Regions from separate parts of the Homo sapiens genome. Here regions 1, 3 and 4 are each linked to region 2. Evidence: promoter capture Hi-C in human tissues and cell types (Jung and others, 2019). All regions are on one chromosome and are shown on one strand. The core of a region is centred on a gene start or on the middle of the fragment in contact, and the rest is flanking DNA. Distances in the headings are between cores, read along the strand shown. Region 1 overlaps MOV10L1 (Mov10 like RNA helicase 1). Region 2 holds the start of PPP6R2 (protein phosphatase 6 regulatory subunit 2). Region 3 overlaps TRABD (TraB domain containing). Region 4 holds the start of KLHDC7B (kelch domain containing 7B).

What was found. The method cuts DNA at HindIII sites, captures the fragments that hold promoters and counts their contacts. A contact is called where the count stands out against the background at its distance.
Region 1: a contact is called between a fragment that was not itself captured here and the fragment with the promoter of PPP6R2 in region 2, in 1 of the 25 tissues and cell types used here (spleen).
Region 3: a contact is called between a fragment that was not itself captured here and the fragment with the promoter of PPP6R2 in region 2, in 1 of the 25 tissues and cell types used here (dorsolateral prefrontal cortex).
Region 4: a contact is called between the fragment with the promoter of KLHDC7B here and the fragment with the promoter of PPP6R2 in region 2, in 2 of the 25 tissues and cell types used here (dorsolateral prefrontal cortex and spleen).

Annotation. Positions count from the first base shown.
Region 1 is chr22:50,146,871-50,151,657 of GRCh38, forward strand. It overlaps MOV10L1 (Mov10 like RNA helicase 1), which reads left to right. Exons shown (of 27, transcript NM_018995.3): 20 at 2,745-2,844; 21 at 3,865-4,029. Among named protein-coding and RNA genes, the nearest start is that of PANX2, 21 kb to the right of the region's middle. The HindIII fragment of the contact is 5,425 bases long and covers 41-4,787 here.
Region 2 is chr22:50,342,068-50,346,872 of GRCh38, forward strand. PPP6R2 (protein phosphatase 6 regulatory subunit 2) reads left to right here and starts at 1,260. Exons shown (of 24, transcript NM_001242898.2): 1 at 1,260-1,483. RefSeq lists an enhancer at 1-614 and silencers at 711-880, 1,151-1,430, 1,441-1,520. The HindIII fragment of the contact is 17,181 bases long and covers 1-4,805 here.
Region 3 is chr22:50,189,787-50,194,639 of GRCh38, forward strand. TRABD (TraB domain containing) reads left to right here. Exons shown (of 10, transcript NM_001320485.2): 2 at 3,241-3,307; 3 at 3,790-3,868; 4 at 4,554-4,720. The coding sequence starts at 3,275. Among named protein-coding and RNA genes, the nearest start is that of TRABD, 6.3 kb to the left of the region's middle. RefSeq lists enhancers at 1-483, 484-1,098, 784-1,143, 2,734-2,783, 2,864-2,953 and 2 more and a silencer at 2,124-2,173. The HindIII fragment of the contact is 4,938 bases long and covers 1,049-4,853 here.
Region 4 is chr22:50,544,371-50,549,002 of GRCh38, forward strand. KLHDC7B (kelch domain containing 7B) reads left to right here and starts at 1,529. Exons shown (of 1, transcript NM_138433.5): 1 at 1,529-4,632. The coding sequence starts at 1,874. It overlaps KLHDC7B-DT (KLHDC7B divergent transcript), which reads right to left and starts at 4,577. Exons shown (of 4, transcript NR_199716.1): 1 at 4,526-4,577; 2 at 2,004-2,098; 3 at 417-1,025. RefSeq lists silencers at 1-144, 4,055-4,484, 4,565-4,632. The HindIII fragment of the contact is 12,740 bases long and covers 1,156-4,632 here.

The sequences.
Region 1 (4,787 bases), core at 1,503-4,002, 190 kb before region 2:
ACTTTACATTTTTTTTGGTTCAAGTCTTCAAAATCCACCATGTATTTTACACTTAGAGCATGTCAGGTTTCAGACTAGCCACTGTGCGGTGCCCGAGAGCCGTGTGTGGCTACCGGATTGGACAGCACGGATCTGAACAAGACAGGGATTTTTTTTGTTAATGTGTGTTGATGAGTCAAAGGTCAAGAGCCGAAGAGCCAGTCCTCACTGGGGTGCAGAGGGCTCTTTGGGGGCAGAGCGGGCACTGCATGGACCCTGCACCCTGGAGCTGATGTTCAGGTAGTGGGAGGAGGTGGCCGGCCAGGGCAGGCCGCTCTCTCAGAGGCACTCTGTGCAGAAGCAGGGAGGGTGCTGCAGGCCGCTCTCTCAGAGGCGCTCTGTGCAGAAGCAGGGAGGGTGCTGCAGGCCGCTCTCTCAGAGGCGCTCTGTGCAGAAGCAGGGAGGGTGCTGCAGGCCGCTCTCTCAGAGGCGCTCTGTGCAGAAGCAGGGAGGGTGCTGCAGGCCGCTCTCTCAGAGGCGCTCTGTGCAGAAGCAGGGAGGGTGCTGCAGGCCGCTCTCTCAGAGGCGCTCTGTGCAGAAGCAGGGAGGGTGCTGCAGGCCGCTCTCTCAGAGGCGCTCTGTGCAGAAGCAGGGAGGGTGCTGCAGGCCGCTCTCTCAGAGGCGCTCTGTGCAGAAGCAGGGAGGGTGCTGCAGGCCGCTCTCTCAGAGGCGCTCTGTGCAGAAGCAGGGAGGGTGCTGCAGCCCAGCTGCAGAGGCCCCACAGCGTTAGTTGGCCACTGGGGGCGGCTGGAGTGGGGAGGGGCACTTCAAAGGGCAAAGAAGTAGCAATGTCATCTGGCAAAAGTGACATTAAATAACTGCAATTAATACAGAATTGAAACCTAAATACTTACATTCTAGGAAAGATACATAATGTTAATTTTTTTCAACAGAAATAGGGACATGAGATGGGGAAATGGCAGTTTGCTGATTTCCACATCTTTCACTGGGAGGGGTTCACGGTGTCACTTGTGAAATCCGTGTCTTGAGAGTTACACATTGATACCTGAAGTGAAAGGTGTCAGCTGACCGTGAGTGGATGCAGGACATGTTGGGCCCAGCACTGCTGTAAGCAGGAGCCCGCCCCCGCACAGGTCTGACCACAGGGTCTCACCCCACAGTGGGACACCTGAGGCTCAGAGGTGATGGATTTGCCCAGCATCTAGGGTTGGAGAGGGGAGATCCTGGAATCAGCAGTGAGAAGGGTAAACGTGGGCTCGGCAGTGAGGACGGTGCGGGCCCAAGGTGCGTCCTGTTGAGTGTTGGCGTGGCTCCGGACACTCTCTCTGCCCCATACCTGCTTCCTCAGGCATCAGGACATGTTTCTGCCCCAAGAGCATTTCCCCACTGAGGCCTCCTGACCACAGAGCAGAAGCTGCTGGGGTGGGCGAGCCAGGGAAGCCGGGGCACCTGTTCCTCAGCTCATGGCCCCAGGTGGGGTGGCCCCTCTGCACTCTAGAAACAGATCATGTGCCGAGCGAGCTCCTGCTCTCCGCTCAGTCCCACAGCCTTCCCATGCAAGAGTTCCGCAGCTTCTCCTGACGACTCCTTCCCGCAAAATCCCCACCCCGTCCATCAGCAACGCTGTGGACTCTCTGCTCCTGCACCTCCCTTACCTCCCTTGTCACACGGAGAAGGAAGAGCCGGACAGGTACCCGCCAGGAGGGCTGCTCTGTAGCTGGGAACCTCACTGAGTTTGCAGCAGGGGCCAGAATTGTGGGGAGCCATTCTAGAGACCGCATTTTCTTTTTTTCTTTTTTTTTTTTTTTTATGAGATGGAGTCTTGCTCTGTCACCCAAGCTGGAGTGCAGTGGCGCGATCTCAGCTCACTGCAAGCTCCGCCTCCCAGGTTCACGCCATTCTCCTGCCTCAGCTTCCCGAGTAGCTGGGACTACAGGCGCCCGCCACCACACCCGGCTAATTTTTTTGTATTTTGAGTAGAGACGGGGTTTCACCGTGTTAGCCAGGATGGTCTTGATCTCCTGACCTCGTGATCCACCCATCTCGGCCTCCCAAAGTGCTGGCATTACAGGCGTGAGCCACTGCGCCCGACCAACCCCATTTTCTTAATGGTGCCGCAGATTGGGAAGTGGCTCCCAGGGCCTCAGCCTATTGGCATGCAGGCCAGGCAGTGCCCAGCTGAGAGTGGCTCACAAGGATGAGTCAGGAGGAAATGAGCGGATGGCAGGAGAGGCTGCCATCTGTGGCCGCCTGCATGGCCAGGCCTGTTCTCAGCGCTTTACAGCGGCCAGTTCAGCTGCTCTCACCTCAGCCACCTCCCGAGAGACACGTGGGAGGTGGAGGCTCAGAGAGGGGAAGTCAGGACTAGAGCCTGGGCATTTTGATAATGACAGGAGTGAGACGCAGGTGGAGAGCAGGCCAGGAGCCTGCGGCGCTTCTCCTGTGAGCTGCCCCCAGGAGGCGCTCGTGTGTTGCCCATCGCTCCCACCCCTTCTTCCCTCCACATCTCTAGAAATACAGACGCTGCGTGCAAAGCACTGGGTGCTGATGTGGCTTAGCATCTCCTGACACCTGTGGCCTGTCCTCCCTCCAGCCGGGTGACACCCAGACCCCCAGCTCCTGCACACCCCTGGGCAACCCTGCTGTGCCCCCGGGGTGCTGAGCGTGGCTTTGCCAGTGTGTCAGAGGCATCAATTGCTAAAACAATTCGGCAGAAATTACCATTTAGAACATCTTTGCTCTAGAGTTGGGCACTTCACTCACGTGTTTGTGGACGAGGCTGGGCAGGCAAGTGAGCCGGAATGCCTCATTCCTCTGGGGCTGATGTCGGACATCAGTGGCCAGGTAAGTCCCGACTACTGTGTGTGCTGCTTCCTCCTCACCCCGTTCTCCTGAGGGGATGCAGGCTGCGATCCTGCCGGGAACAGTCACAGCTGTACAGGGGTCAGGTGGAAGTGCCAAGGACCCCGAGGTGTTGGGGGCCATGGGTCTCTATTGTACTTTATTCCTTTTGGACTAGAAGTGAATGTCTTGACTCATTTACTTGTAAAACGGAGGTAAGAGCCATTCTAGGTGTTGGGGATACAGCGGTAAAGTCAGGAATGTGGTCCCTGCTCTGGGTGAGCCGGCCGTTCAGTGCCTGGAGGGGCGGACAGGGCCAGTGCTCCTGCATCTGACCCACTTGCCCCTCAGGCTGCCCTGGCCTCCAGCTCTGTGCATCCTCTGTTCTCTGCTCCCACCTGCTTCCTCCCCGAGTGCTTCTGATGGTGGCGTGGGCATCACCTTGAACTTCCCTGGTTCTCTCACTGTGGCTCATCCAGGCGAGCTCATCCAGTGTCCAGCACTGGACATTTCAGGGTCCTCCTTGGCACCCATCCTAGATGTCTGTCCCAGTCACCAGGCACTGTGGGGCGGAGCATGAAGGTGACGCCTAGGGAGGGAGCAGGGACTGGTCCAGGCAGAGCAGCGGCATAGGGCGGCCTGACCAGGTCAAGGCAACCATGGGCAAGAGGCAAGGGGCAGGTGGGATGGCGGCCAGGGCCAGCCATGCAGAAGCTTCCAGAAGATAGACGGCATCCTTGGGGCTCTTACCACTTTGAGAGATTCGCAGGAGAGAAAACCAGGCTGCAGAAGCCGGGCAGATGGCAGGACTTCGGGGAGGCAGATGGCAGGACTTCAGGGGGAAGCGGGGAGAGACGGCTCCAAGCCCTGTCGGCATTCCCTGGTCTCCCAGTCCCTCCCGTCGTCCCCTGCAGCAAGAGTGAGCATGGGGCCATCCTGCGCACAGCCCCATTCCCACCTGAGCCCGTAGGAGTGGCAGCGGCACCCTCCCTGCATGAGCTGAGACGGGCCCTCTGTGTGCAGATCGTGCTGGCAGGAGACCCCATGCAGCTCGGCCCAGTCATTAAGTCCAGACTCGCCATGGCCTATGGGCTGAACGTGTCCTTTTTGGAACGGCTGATGTCTCGACCCGCGTACCAGAGGGACGAAAATGCTTTCGGTGCTTGTGGCGCACATAATCCCCTGTTGGTGAGTCACAGACTCCAGCGCGTTCAGGTCCCCAGCTAAGCAGACACAGGCTCCAGGGCAGTCGAGCAGCTCACTCTTCTGTCCACCTGAGTCATCTCCATCCGTGGGCAGAGTGCAGGGGAGCACCCACCATAGCACCTCCCCCGTCAGCAGAAACTGCAGCCTGGTGCTGATGGCTGAGACTCTGGGGTCAGATTCAGTAAAATAAGTTAAAATCTGTGTTACTCTGTTAACGTTAAGAAAAGCAAGAAATAATTTTTGTGACTTAAAAAGCCTGCCCTAGAGTGACTGCAGGCAGTGTCTCCTCAGTGGTCTCTGACCCCAAGGTCCCACTGAAGTGCAGGTCTGGGCTCTCAGCCAACCTTGCACCAAATTCTGAGGGATGGGCTTTGGGATTTGCATCTTTGGAGCCCCCAGCACACTGAGCTTGGGCCTCCAGGGCCCATCATTCAACAGTGAACCAAGTAGCCTCAGTTTGTAAGCCCCTGTAGCCCACAGAAAAACAGTCTCCATCTGATTCCCATTGCCAGTATTAACATCAATAGAAAATGAGGGGCAGTTACCATGGGCAGACTTTCAGGGAAAAGGACTGGACCCCATTCTTGGTTGTCAAGGGTAGGGAGCAGGTGGGGGTCTTCAGGCCAAGGAAGGCCTCATGAGGGACTACCCGCAAGACAGGACCGGCTGTGCCAGGAGGCCATGAAACTGCCCCCAGGAAGATGGCCGGCCGTGAGCAGCTGCTGGGCCCAGAGGGCGCC
Region 2 (4,805 bases), core at 10-2,509:
TCAGGCAGAGTTGCACGTGCTCACGGCAGCAGGAGCATCTCCTGCATCTGGTGCCCCTGGCCCCAGTCCCCATTCCGTAGCTCAACTCAGCAGCACCTCCCGCTCCTGCAAAGGAGACCATGGTGAGGGCAGGAGAAGGGCATAGCCTGCTGAACGCAGGGTGTCTCTTCTCTAGGTTGTGAGGCTGAGGCTTTTTCACCCCCACTTCCTGGAAGTTCCCTCAACGGAACCTGCCAGAAATCTGCCCCTTAGGATGCTAGGGGAAAAGCTTTTGCTGGGGAAAGGCTCGCCAGAGGCATCTGCTATAAAACCGGCGAGGAGGGTGCTGCTGACCAGGGCAGGGGACAGGCGTCGGGGAAGCCCGGGGCCGCCAGCCGCAGGGCCAAGCCCTTTTCTCCTGCAACGTCTCTGGCGCCCTCTACCGACAAAGCCTAACAGCGCCAGCTGGCAAAAGAGAAATACCGAATATTTGAGCCGCCCAGATACGCTTTCGCAGAGAGCATCGGTGAATCCTGGGCAATACACTGACAACTGGAAAAAACGTTTAGAGATCCCTTAAGTGCTCCATGTTTTCCCAACATTTACCCACGGCTCGCTCTAACATCTGAAATAATAGTAATCATTTTTGAAATTATTTTGATGGAATTAAACAATTCCAGCACTTGTTAAATAGGCACATACTTAATTTGCAAAACGCCGTGCAAGAACCCGTAGCGCACCTGGAGAAAACTGTCTGGAGGCGGCTCAGGCACTCCGGGTCCAGGCAGGACGCGGGACGGGGAGGGGCCAGGCCTGGCGCCCGGGGCTGAGCCCGCTCCTGCTGCTCGGGGCGTCCACGCCCCGCGGCCTCTGGGAGGGGCCTGTGGCAGGAGGGAGGCCCGGGAGAACAGGCCCTTTCCTGGGCCACGGGGGAAACCCCTGCCCCAGGTGTGTGTCTCTCAAATGCTGCGTCGGGCCACGCGAGGATTGTTTTGTGGCTACAACAAAATTAACTATGCTTGCACAAAACTTTAGCCAATACCTCAAAGGGAAACGTAAAAGGGGAAAGACGCACTCTTACCCCACCCACTCCAAGGCAGCAGTCAGCACACCCAAGCCCTCGTGCTCCCACGCGGGTTTCACCGAGTGCCCCACTCCAGGGGGCCCGGAGAGCCGGCCCAGGTCCCGGCCCCGCCCACCCGCGCGGCCCCGCCCCCGGCCGCGAGCGTGCGCGCCCCAAGCGGAGACCCCGCCCCCGGAGCGCGTGCCCGTGCGCCGCCGCCGCCATTTTGGAGCGATCGGAGTGCCGCCCGCGGCCCCGAGTCGGTCTCGAGCCGCCGGCCGGCCGTGCCGGTGTCCGTAGGCGCTGCGCCCTCGGCCGGGCCCATGTGTGTGCGGCCCGCCCGAGGCCGCCCGGGCTTTGCCTCCACCAGCGCCCTGGCCTCCGCTCGGGCCTCCACACGGGCCTCCGAAGAGCTGCCGCGACGCCCGGCCCGCAGGGCAGGTGAGTGCGGCCGCCCGCCGCTCAGACCCGGCCCCCAGTCTGCCAGTGCCCCCCAAGTCACTTCTCCCCGAGTCAGTCAGTGCCCCCTCCAGATAGTTATCCCCCAGTCAGTCAGTTCCCCCTCCAGTCAGTTCCCCCCAGTCGGTGCCCCCGGAGTCAGTGCCCCCCCCAAGTCAGTCAGTGCCCCCTCCAGTCAGTTCCCCCCCAGTTAGTGCACCCTCTAGTCAGTTCCCCCAGTCAGTGCCCCCTCCAGTCAGTTCCCCCCCAGTCAGTTCCCCCCCAGTCAGTTTCCCCCCAGTCAGTTTCCCCCCAGTCAGTGCCCCCCAGTCAGTGCCCCCTCCAGTCAGTTCCCCCCCAGTCAGTGCCCCCTCCAGTCAGTTTCCCCCCAGTCAGTGCCCCCTCCAGTCAGTTCCCCCCCAGTCAGTGCCTCCTCCAGTCAGTTTCCCCCAGTCAGTGCCTCCTCCAGTCAGTTTCCCCCAGTCAGTGCCCCCTCCAGTCAGTTCCCCCCCCAGTCAGTGCCCCCTCTAGTCAGTTCCCCCCCAGTCAGTGCCCCCTCTAGTCAGTTCCCCCCCAGTCAGTGCCCCCTCTAGTCAGTTTCCCCCCAGTCAGTGCCTCCTCCAGTCAGTTTCCCCCAGTCAGTGCCTCCTCCAGTCAGTTTCCCCCAGTCAGTGCCTCCTCCAGTCAGTTTCCCCCAGTCAGTGCCCCCTCCAGTCAGTTCCCCCCAGTCAGTGCCCCCCCAGTCAGTTTCCCCCCAGTCAGTGCCCCCCAGTCAGTGCCCCCCAGTCAGTGCCCCCTCCAGTCAATTCCCCCCAGTCAGTGCCCCCTCCAGTCAGTTCCCCCCCCAGTCAGTGCCCCCTTCAGTCAGTTCCCCCAGTCAGTGCCCCCTCCAGTCAGTTCCCCCCCAGTCAGTGCCCCCCCAGTCAGTTTCCCCCCAGTCAGTGCCCCCCAGTCAGTGCCCCCTCCAGTCAATTCCCCCCAGTCAGTGCCCCCTCCAGTCAATTCCCCCCAGTCAGTGCCTCCTCCAGTCAGTTTCCCCCAGTCAGTGCCCCCTCCAGTCAGTTCCCCCCAGTCAGTGCCCCCCCAGTCAGTTTCCCCCCAGTCAGTGCCCCCCAGTCAGTGCCCCCTCCAGTCAATTCCCCCTAGTCAGTGCCCCCTCCAGTCAGTTCCCCCCCAGTCAGTGCCTCCTCCAGTCAGTTTCCCCCAGTCAGTGCCTCCTCCAGTCAGTTTCCCCCAGTCAGTGCCCCCTCCAGTCAGTTCCCCCCCCAGTCAGTGCCCCCTCTAGTCAGTTCCCCCCCAGTCAGTGCCCCCTCTAGTCAGTTCCCCCCCAGTCAGTGCCCCCTCTAGTCAGTTCCCCCCCAGTCAGTGCCCCCTCTAGTCAGTTCCCCCCCAGTCAGTGCCCCCTCTAGTCAGTTTCCCCCCAGTCAGTGCCTCCTCCAGTCAGTTTCCCCCAGTCAGTGCCTCCTCCAGTCAGTTTCCCCCAGTCAGTGCCTCCTCCAGTCAGTTTCCCCCAGTCAGTGCCCCCTCCAGTCAGTTCCCCCCAGTCAGTGCCCCCCCAGTCAGTTTCCCCCCAGTCAGTGCCCCCCAGTCAGTGCCCCCTCCAGTCAATTCCCCCCAGTCAGTGCCCCCTCCAGTCAGTTCCCCCCCAAGTCAGTGCCCCCTCCAGTCAGTTCCCCCAGTCAGTGCCCCCTCCAGTCAGTTCCCCCCCAGTCAGTGCCTCCTCCAGTCAGTTTCCCCCAGTCAGTGCCCCCTCCAGTCAGTTCCCCCCCCAGTCAGTGCCCCCTCCAGTCAGTTCCCCCCCCCAGTCAGTACACCCTCTAGTCAGTTCCCCCAGTCAGTGCCCCCTCCAGTCAGTTCCCCCCAGTCAGTTTCCCCCCAGTCAGTTTCCCTCCAGTCAGTGCCCCCCAGTCAGTGCCCCCTCCAGTCAGTGCCCCCTCCAGTCAGTTTCCCCCCAGTCAGTGCCCCCTCCAGTCAGTTCCCCCCAGTCAGTTTTCCCCCAGTCAGTTTCCCTCCAGTCAGTGCCCCCCAGTCAGTGCCCCCTCCAGTCAGTGCCCCCTCCAGTCAGTTTCCCCCCAGTCAGTGCCCCCTCCAGTCAGTTCCCCCCCAGTCAGTTTCCCCCCAGTCAGTTTCCCTCCAGTCAGTGCCCCCTCCAGTCAGTTCCCCCCATCAGTGCCCCCCTAGTCAGTGCCCCCTCCAGTCAGTTCCCCCCCCCCGGTCAGTTCCCCCCCCCAGTCAGTGCCCCCTCCAGTCAGTTTCCCCCCAGTCAGTGCCCCCCAAGTCAGTGCCCCCTCCAGTCAGTTCCCCCCCAGTCAGTGCCCCCCTCCAGTCAGTTCCCCCCAGTCAGTGCATCCTCTAGTCAGTTCCCCCCAGTCAGTGAACCCTCCAGTCAGTGACCCACCCAGTCAGTGCCCCCTCCAGTCAGTTCCCCCCCAGTCAGTGCCCCCCTCCAGTCAGTTCCCCCCAGTCAGTGCATCCTCTAGTCAGTTCCCCCCAGTCAGTGAACCCTCCAGTCAGTGACCCACCCAGTCAGTGCCCCCTCCAGTCAGTTCCCCCAGTCAGTTGCCCCCCAGTCAGTGCCCCCCAAGTCAGTCAGTTCCCCCTCCAGTCAGTTCCCCCAGTCAGTCAGTGCCCCCCAGTCAGTGCCCCCCCCAAGTCAGTCACTGTCCCCTCCAGTCAGTGCCCCTCCAGTAAGTTCTCCCCAGTCAGTGCATCCCCTAGTCAGTTCCCCCCAGTCAGTGCCCCCTTCAGTGTCCCCCAGTCAGTTCCCCTCAGTCAGTGCCCCCCCAGTCAGTTCCCCCCGCAATCAGTTCCCCCGTCAGTGCCCCCTCCAGTCAGTGCCCCCCAAATCAGTGCCCCCAGTCAGTGCCCACTCCAGTCAGTTCCCCTCCAGTAAGTGCCCCCCAAGTCAGTTTCCTCCCAAGTCAGGGCCCCCTCCAGTCAGTTCCCTCCCAGTCAGTCAGTGCCCCCCCAGTCAGTGCCCTCCTTCTGTTCCCCCACCCTACACCAGTCAGTGCTTCCTGCACCAGTCAGTGTCCCCTGCTAGCTAGTCATTGCACCTCACCCATCAGTCCCCACCCCACCCATCAGTGCCCCCCACCGTCAGTCAGTGCCCCTTGCAAGTCATGCTCCTCCTGTCGGTCAGTGCCTCCGCATCTGTCAGTCCGCGCACTGGTCAGTGCCTCCACTGTTGGTCAGTGCTCCCCCACCGTCAGTCCACTCTGCTCCCCATCAGTGTCCCCCAGTCAGAGTCCCGCATCCCTGTCCCCCGTCAGCCAGTGCCCCCCCAGTCAATTATTTTCTTTCTGTCATGTCCCCACTTCCCATC
Region 3 (4,853 bases), core at 2,268-4,767, 150 kb before region 2:
AGGGGGTGGCTGCAGTGTGTGCTGGCCGGACCCCAGGTGATGCTCTGCTGGGACCCAGAGGTTGTGGGGCTGGGAACCAGGTGGGGGTTCTTCAGACATTGTCTCTGAAGACACTTCAGAGTCCAGGCTCAGCATCTGTGGCTTTTGGGCCAGGGCCTTTTGCTCACCGCCAGGCAGCTGGGAGAGGCTCTGGGCCCAGCCATAAATGTCTGAGAGCACAGCTGCCTGGGAGCAGACTAGAGGGAGGAGGGCTGGTAACCTGAAATCACACCCTAGAGCTCTCCAGGGGCCTTGGCGAGGAGGGAAAGAGAGTGTTGAGACTGTAAGAGTGACTGTCAGAGACGTCCCCCAGAATCACGGGCTTTAGGTGCTGGGGGGTCCTCAGTGACCTTCCCGCCTGGCTCCCTGCGGGCAGCACGCCTCTGCTGAGAGGCTGCAGGGGCCAGGGCTGGGGGCTGGCACTGCCTCTGGTGGCGCTGACATCGTCCTGCTCAAGGCTTGGCAGCCGGCCCAGGAAAGCTTCTCTGCCCTCCCTGACAGGAGACCTGTGCACGCCCACCCCATGGCACGACTGGGGTCAGGACCAGCGCCTGCTGCTGCACCGAGACCCTGCCCTGTCCATGGCCACAGGCGTACCCTAGGCCGGCCTCAGAGGCGGGTCTGGCCAGGCTGGGTGGAGGGTGGGGGCTGACCGCAGACCTGGGGCTGCCACACCCATGGGGGAAGGGCTGTGGCGACGTGGGCGCCTCCTGTTGGCTGGGCCGACGCAGCCTCCCGCCCGGCTGCACAGGAGTTTCTTTAAGGAGTTTCCCCGGTGTGCCTCGGCAGCCTTGCGCTGCTCTAATGGTCCGGACTTCCGTGTGTGAGTTTCCCCCGTGCGCCCCGGCAGTCTTGCGCTGCTCCTAAGAGTTCTGGCTTGTGTGTGTAGCTAGACCCAGGGAGGCGGCCGTCTCCCGGACCGGGTGCTTGTCTGGGCTGGCTGGCCTGGCGGCTGCTCACAACAGCTTCCGGTGGGTTCCGGTCGGGTTGCATCGTGGAGCTTTCACCTACAAAAGGGGAAGGAGGCGGCCCAAGGGTCCGGGGCCTGGTCCTGCTGTGACCGGTGCCAGCTGCACTTCCTGGATGTGCCAACCGCTAAGACGCCCAGGCCAGGGTTGGGTCCAGACTCAAGCCCAGGTGGCAAGGAGTGGGACCCCCTGCCAAGGCTGTGAGGCCCCATAGGGGAGCCTGCCTGTGGAGCGGGCCCCCCTTGCCCTCTGCAGAGGCTCAAGGCCCCCGGGGACATGAGCCTGGTGTTTATCAGCTGTCTCCTTAGTCTCAGCTGACCTCCCCCGACCATGGCCCCATTGCACCACCCACCCCAAGCCAGGCCAGTTCCTCTCCCAGAAGTCCCGGCTGTCCAAGAAGAGGGCAGGGTGGGCTGCCCTCTTCTCGGCCAGCTTCAGATGGGGCCTCTGGTTGCACTGAGACAGGCCTCTTCCCCTGCTCAGAGCCGTCCCTGCTCCCCCAGCCCCTGAGCTGCCCTCCTAGACACTGCACAGAGAGCTCCTTCCTGTTCACAGGTTAGGACACCCAAGCTTGGAGGCATCTTAACTTGGATGTGGGTGGCCAGGACCCAGCTGGGTCTGTGAGTCCTGGCTGGGGCCGAGGTCTGTGCCTGCTGTGGCTGTGTGCCAACAGGGTTTGCAGAGGAAAGGAACCTGACATAGCGTCTTATTGCTCATTGTTCCTTTTTCTTATGAGTTCTGAGAAGTGGGCAGCAGTAGTGACATGAAAATGACCCCAGATGCACGCAGGCATCAGTGCAGAACCCGGCAGTGGCCCCTCTGAAGCACATCCTACAAGCCCCGTCGTTTCCTCGCCAGATGCTCGTGTCTGACTGACGCAGACGCTTCAAGACAAAACCACAATACCTTGCACGACTAGACAGCTCAGAATGGTTTCCAACGGCTCATTTTTATTTTTTACTTTTGTTTTTTTCTTGAGACAGAGTCTCCCTCTGTCACCCAGGTTGGAGTGCAGTGACAGGATCTCGGCTCACTGCAACCTCAGCCTCTCGGGTTCAAAGTGATTCTCCTGCCTCAGCCTCCCCAGTAGCTGGGATTACGGGTGTGCACCACCACGCCTGGCTAATTTGTGTATTTTTGGTAGAGATGGGGTTTCACCAGGATGGTCTATGTTGGCCAGGCTGGTCTCGAACTCCTGAGCTCAGGCAGTCCATCCACCTTGGCCCCCCAAAGTGCTGGGATTACAGGTGTGAGCCACCGCGCCTGGCCTGTTTGGGATATTTTAATGATTCTGCCTGGTGACACATCCATCCGCCAGGACATGCATGAGCCATTAACTTGGTAAACAGTCACTCCTGGCATTCCGTGGCTGAGAACATTCAGGAAGAGCCACATGGTGCAGCAGGGCCTGTGGCCAGTCTCAGGACAGCCTGCTGGTCCCTGGCCCCGCCTCGAGGGGCTCCGCGCAGGTCTCGCCGATGCTCTGTGGGTCTTGGCCGGTGCGTGCCTCTGGTGCTGCAGGCGCCTGGCTGTTTTCTTCCTTCCCTCAGGCTCCTGGGCCCCCGGCCTGAGCTCCTGGTTTCTGAGAGTCTGTGGGGAGCTGTGATGCCTCGGGGCAGCCCCCTCGTGTGGCTGCCCCAGCCTGTCCGGGTTTCTACCGTGGTTCCTTCCACACCATGTTTGTCTCTTAAAGTGGGAGAGAAGGTCTTAGGTCCAAACACGTTGATTTGTGTGCTTTGTGGATTCCTCCGTCTGTACTGACTCTGTGCCGGTGTTGTTGCCCAGGCTGTAGTTACTGAAAGGGGAAGTGGCTTTTGTACAAAGGCCCTGGGGTCCTTGCCATGTGTCAGCAGCTGCGTTGCTGTGTCCTGAGATCATGTGTGGACCCCAGGGCTGCCTTCCTATGTGTGCCCGCCGTGCCGCAGTGAGGGTTGGGCAGCTCTGGCCCTGTTCTGAGTGAGGCCTGTGCACCAGCAACCCGCCCTGGGCCCGTCTGCGTTTGGTTTATGCTGGGGTGTCTGGGGACCTGCTGGCCTTTCCCCACCCGGGCCTGACCTGAACCGACCCTGGACCTCAGCAGCCTTTGATGGGCAGGAGGCATTTGGGGATATGGGGGAAGGAGCCCCCAGGCCCACCCAACAGATGGTTCTAGACTGACAGGGCACTACGCAGTGAGTCCTGAGCCAGGTCTGGGGCTCCAGGTGGAAACCCCGCCTCTCATGCCTCTCCTCAGGCTCCCCACAGGTGCAGGAAGCCGCCGCCCAGCCATGGACGGGGAGGAGCAGCAGCCACCGCACGAGGTGAGGTGGAGGCTGGGCTGGCTGCACAGAGACAGGGGCGGGGGGCTTCCCCGCTTTGTGGGCTCTCGGGGTCGGTCCCTGGCTGTTGTTCTGCAAAGGTGATCTTCACAGGGTTCTCCAGGGTCAGGCAGGAGGCACCTCCGAGGGAGAGGGGCGCTGGGCTGAGGTGGCCTGGTGGCCCTGTCTGCCCAGCTTGATGGCAGCCGTGCCAGTGATGGCCAAGCAGGAGGGGTACTGACAGTGTGGGGCCTAGGCTCTACGGAGGCCCTGCTTTTCAGGGTGTGTGGTACACAGAGCGGCCACGGGTCCCTTTCCCGGGTACGTGGTCCGTGGAGCGGTCACGGGCCCTCGTTTTTCAGGGTGTGTGGTCCACACAGCGGCCACGGGTCCCTTTCCAGGGTACGTGGTCCGTGGAGTTGCCACGGAGCCCTGGCTTTCTGGGGTGCATGGACCCTGACTTGAACTCTCCTTTCCACCTGCAGGCCAACGTGGAACCTGTTGTGCCGTCAGAGGCTTCAGAGCCGGTGCCCAGGGTGCTTTCTGGAGACCCCCAGAACCTGTGTACGTGTCCCTCAGGGTCCTGGCACGTTCCCCGGTGTTGGGCTGTTGAGTCAGGGAGGAGGGGGAGGCAGCCAACCACTGCCAGGGGCTTGGAGCTTGTGGTGAGCAGGGGCCCTGGCCGAGACCTGAGGTAGGTGCTGCTAGGCCTGGTGCCACCCAACAGCAGCTGCTCCTGGGCCCTGCCTGGCAGTGGAGCCTCTTGGAGGGGCTGCAAGCAGCACAGGCAGGCCCCTGGGCATGGGGGGCTCGTGAGCACAAGCAGTGTGAGCGGCACGGGAGTCCCTCCTTGCTGTGGCCTCAGCCTGTCCCTCCTGAGTGGGGTGGGGGGGCCCATTTCGCCTCAGAGCCCCTCCCCTAGCTGAGCCCCCTGCGGCACCTGCCCCCACTGTCCCCCACACCGAACCTCATCCACAGCAACCCCCAAGGTCGCCCTCATGGGGTGTATGGGGCACAGGACTCCTGAGGCCCTGGCTTCTCGAAGCCGTGCAGCTCACAGAGGTGGTAGCCGGTGTTCCCATCACTGGGCAGGCAAAGCCTGTGGAGTGTGACGCTCGTCAGGAGTCTTGTGCTCTGCACCTGTTCAGTTCTCAGAACCCAGGAGGGTTCTAGAGCCCAGGCTGCCAGCGGGCCCGGCGGCGTCCTTGGGGTGGGCCCGGCACCACAACGGCCTGTGCTGCTGTTGCAGCCGACGTGGACGCCTTCAACCTGCTCCTGGAGATGAAGCTGAAGCGGCGGCGTCAGCGGCCCAACCTGCCGCGCACTGTGACCCAGTTGGTGGCTGAGGACGGGAGCAGGGTGTACGTGGTGGGGACAGCCCACTTCAGCGACGACAGCAAGAGGGACGTTGTGAAGGTGAGCGCCGCCACCCGCCACATCCCGGACACGGGTTGGTGTAAGCTCCTGTGTCCTGCACTCAGGGACCTCCCGGCAGGGCCCGTGTGCCCGTGTGTGCGCACCGCAGGCCTCCTGCTTCAACACTGTGGTC
Region 4 (4,632 bases), core at 279-2,778, 200 kb after region 2:
GGCCCGGGGGCGCTCGCGCGCGCTGCCAACGGAGCCATCCCTGACGCGTTCTCAGTCTACGGCAGAAAACGCCAGTCGGCGCCGGACCGTGACTCCAGGGTTTCGCGGAAATAAATTTTAATCCAGTTTTGAAGCCACCACTTGGAGTTCCAGGGCAGTTGCACCCCGGGGGTGCGCTGCCGCCACCGCTTCCCGCCCCCTACTCAGTCTCTAATATTTATGGGTGTCATCTCCATCCTCTGAAGGTTTCTGGACCCCAAACTTAACCAAGAGGCAGAGCCTGAGACTGGGACAGAGAATAAGGGCACGGTCTAGAAAGCCTTCCCTCAACTTGAGGTCCACCTTAAGGCATGGGGCCCACCCTCACCCTCTCCCTGTCATCTAATAGTCCCAGGGGGAGCTGGGAGGTGAGTTACCTGAGGCTCAGTAGGGTTCAGGCTGGGTGCCAGGGACACTCCTAGGCCATCTCCTTGCTGCTTGAGTAAGGGAGAAATCCCCAGGCCTGCTGTGTCCCAGAGGAAGGAAAAATACACACGGTACTTTCCAGGGAGCCCTGCCTTTGTCCCAGGGACTCCAGGCTCTTTTTCTTGTCTGAGCCTCACCTGGCACCTGGCCCGAGACACTCCTGAGATGGGATTAAGCAAGGAGCAGGTGGAGGAGCCCAGGCTTCTCCCTCAGGAAGCAAGTGCTCACATCCAACAGAAGTACCTACATGCCGGCCTGAGCCAGGGCTAGGAGGTACCAGCCAGGATGTGGTCTCGAGGGCGAGTCCTCAGCTCAGATAAGGGAAGGCTGAGGACTGAGATGAAGACACCCAGAGTCTGGCTATTAGAGCACCTGGGGCCAGAGGGGGGTGGTTTCTAAGGGATCCAGGTGCTGGCTGATGCGGTAACTGGAGTAGGGGGCAGGCTGGGCTCAGGGTTCTCCAGGGGCACAGTGAGAGTCTCATCTGGGCAGTCAAGACACTCTCGATGGGCGCAGGGGGTCCAGGAGATCCTAGAAGGTCTAGGTGGGCTGAAATAAGCCTGGCCATAAAGAGAGAAATATGTTTGGATTTTATTTATCCCATTAATTTTTTTTTTCTCTTGACTTGATAACCCTATCCCATGTCTGGTAAACCCAGAGTAAGGAGTCCAAAAGCTGCTGGAGGAGGAGCTATGGGAGCCTCAGTCTCCTCTCTATGCCCCCTCCCTGTGCCCCAGTACAAACCTCCACAGCACCCCTGCAATGATAATGCTCACTGCCAGGACCCGTGTCCAGGGTCTCCCTCTTCAGCCTGAGAGACCACCGTCAGGCACAGCCTGCACCCTCCCGTGCACGGCCCCCACCCCTCCCCTGCTGGCCCACAGTGGAATCAGCCTCTCCGGTTTCTGGTGATTTCATCAGGGCCACATCACATTGCTAGAGCTAGAGATAACATCTCCCTGTGGGTAACCCTTCCCTGCCAAGCCCCCTGAAGCTGGGCCCAGGCTGAGAGGAGGGACTGTGGGGTGTGGAATAAATTTAGGGGTGTGAGGGTCTACCAGGCAGAAGCAGGTTGGCTGTGATGACAGCACAGAGCTCAGGAACGCTGCCTGAGGACCCTGGGGCCTACGAGGAGGAGAAGAGGGCAGGAGCTGGTGGGGTGCTTGCAGAGACCCTGGGCTCCTATCCTGCCATAAGCCTCGCTGTCTCCTGATATCTGCAGCCAGGCCCTACTGACACCCCCAGGCCTGAGTGCAAGCAGAGACCCCACCATTCCCAGGCCCTGGAGGACTGGTCCACCTTAACTGGGCAGCCCTTGGGGCAGGCGCTGGCCGGTGCCTCAGCCCAGGCCTCTGTGCTCTGCATGCACTGCCAGCCTGCCATCAGGCCTCTATTGCAGCCCTGAACCATGATCCAGGGCACCTTGGAGCCAGATGGTCCCCTCTGGGGCTGGGACTGGGACAGTGACAATGACTGGGATAGTGCTGTGCTGGCCCTCCTGGCGCTGGCTGTGGTGGCTGCCACAGCGCTGGCCTTACACTGGTTTGGCTCCGGGCACGATCAAGAGGCGGCAGAACCGGTGTCCACAGCCCTCGGGGCTCAACCTCATCAGGCAGGAGGAGCTGAGCTGGCCCTGCAACCGAAGTCTAAGGTCAGTGATGGCAGCGAGGGGCAGAGCCCAGGGCAGGGGAAACCAGAGCCCCCAGGACGCGGCCAGCAGAGCCCTGTCCCTGCTGCAGCGCCGGGCGGGGGCCTGGCCGCCATGGCCCGGCTTCCACTCAAGACGGCTGTCGAGGAGGCCCGCAGAGAGGCATTAGGACAGCAACGGGGCAGTGCCACCCCCGCGGCCCCCCGAGCGGAAGGAAAGGAGCCTCCCAGGCCAGGCACTGCCCTCCTGGGCAGGAGCGAAGCAGGGGGGATGTCCGCCCCCCTCCTGATCCACTTCACTCCTCGGAGCCCTGGCAGCGAAGCGGAGGCGGAGACAGGTGGTGTCAGGGCGTCCTCTCGCCAGGCCGCAGGCCCCGCGGGGCAACAGGACACTGGCCCCTGGCAGGCGGGCGCGGGGCCCTCGGGCTCGATGGGGAGAGGCCGGGGCCGGCGGCGGCGGATGGACGCTGGCTCGGGAGACAGAGCCCGCCGCCCCCGGAAACTGGACCCGCTCCGCCTGGGCGCCGCGGGGAGCGTGTGGGACGCGGTGGACGGGGCCGCCGCCCTGGACGCCCACGCGCGCGGCCTCCCCACAGGACCCCCACTCGCCCAGGAGCCCGCACTCCCGGCGCTGCCCGCTCCCCGCGCCCTGCAGCCTGGGTCTCAGACGGAAGGCTCTGGGGCCAAGGGTGGCTGGAGCAGGGAGGCCTCGGGGGTCCCTGCCCCCGGAGGAGGCTGGCCCTGGGTCAGCAGGGAGGTCCCGGGCACCCGGAGCTTTGGCCCAGCCCCAGACTCCACGCGCCCCTGGCTAGAGAGTCCGCCTCAAGGTCGCCCACTCTCGTCCCAAGGGCCGGGTGCCACAGGGGCCTACGATGCCGGCGAGGCCGGGGCTGACAGCTCCCGAGATAACAGTCCTGCCGCTGACCTGGGGCCCACCCGGCCCCCGGAGCAAGCAAAGCCGGCTGCAGCCGGCCACAGCCGCGCGCCCTCCCGGAGCCGTGAGCCTCGCCCGCGCTCCGCCTCCCCGCCCGCAGCTCCCGGCCCGGGGTTCCCACCTGAAGCCCTGACTCTCCCCTCTCCTTCAGACTTTTTGCCCCTGGAGGTTACCCAGGATCCTTCCGTGGGCGAAAATCTCAGAGCGGCGCCAGCCCCAAGTTCAGCCTCAGCCCAAGTCTTAACTTCAGCTCCAGCCTCAGTCCTAGCCCCAGCCCTGGCTTCATCCCCCAGCTCAGCACCAACCTCAGCCACCACCTCAACCTCATCCCCCACCTCAGCCCCAGCCCCAGCTCCAACCTCAGCTCCAACTTCAACCCCAGCCCCAGCCCCAAGTCCAGCTGCAGCCGCAACTCCAGCCCCAGCCCCAGTCCCAGTCCCAACCCTCACACCCCCATCCCCAGCCCTAACCCCAGTCCCAACCCCAGCCCTAAGCCCAGCTCCAACTCCAGCCCTAACCCCAGCCGCATCCCCAGCCCTAACCCCAGTCCCAACCCCAGCCCTAAGCCCAGCTCCAACTCCAGCCCCAACCCCAGCCGCATCCCCTGCCCCAGCCCCCACCTCAGCCCCAACCCCAACCCCAGCCGCATCCCCTGCCCCAGCTGACGGGTCAAAGCCTCAGGAGAGTGTGGCTCTCCCCAGGCGCTACCAGGAGGGGCAGGTCTCAGCCAGCTGGGGAAACCTTATTGCCATGGTTCTTAGAAGCCACCCCTTCCCCAGGCAAGACAGGCCCCAAGGGAGTGTCCCGAGGGCGGTTCCCGGGAGCCCCGTGGGTCCCAGCACTTCCACACACTCTGAGGACAGACACGGCCCCTCTTCTTCAGTGGGGACAGTCATAGGGACAGGTACAGGGGGCCTGGTTGAGGCTGGAGGTCAGCCACAGCCAAGAAGCTCCGAGACCAACGGATCGCCCAGCCCAGACCCTCCCCCAGGCCTAAGAGGAGAGGGAACCAGGGAGAAAAGTCTAGACCCGCTGCCCCAAGCCGCGATGCCCAGGGGCCCCGCACAGCCCCCCGCGCAGAGGCCGCCTGGCCCCGCGGCCTCCTCCTCTGCGAGGCGCTCACAGCCGGTACCCCAGCTACGGAAACGCAGCAGGTGCGAAATCGCCCCGAGCTCGGAGCAGGAGGTCAGGCCGGCCGCCTCGGGGGACCCTCAAGGGGAGGCGCCGGGGGAGGGGGGCAGCCCTGCCGGCCGCAGCGGGGCGCTCACGGAAAAGCAGGAGGAGGCCCGGAAGCTCATGGTGTTTCTGCAGAGGCCCGGGGGTTGGGGGGTGGTGGAGGGGCCCCGGAAGCCCAGCTCCCGGGCCCTGGAGCCCGCCACGGCGGCAGCCCTGCGGCGGCGGCTGGACCTGGGCAGTTGCCTGGACGTGCTGGCCTTTGCCCAGCAGCACGGAGAGCCCGGCCTGGCGCAGGAGACCTACGCGCTGATGAGCGACAACCTGCTGCGAGTGCTGGGAGACCCGTGCCTCTACCGCCGGCTGAGCGCGGCCGACCGCGAGCGCATCCTCAGCCTGCGGACCGGCCGGGG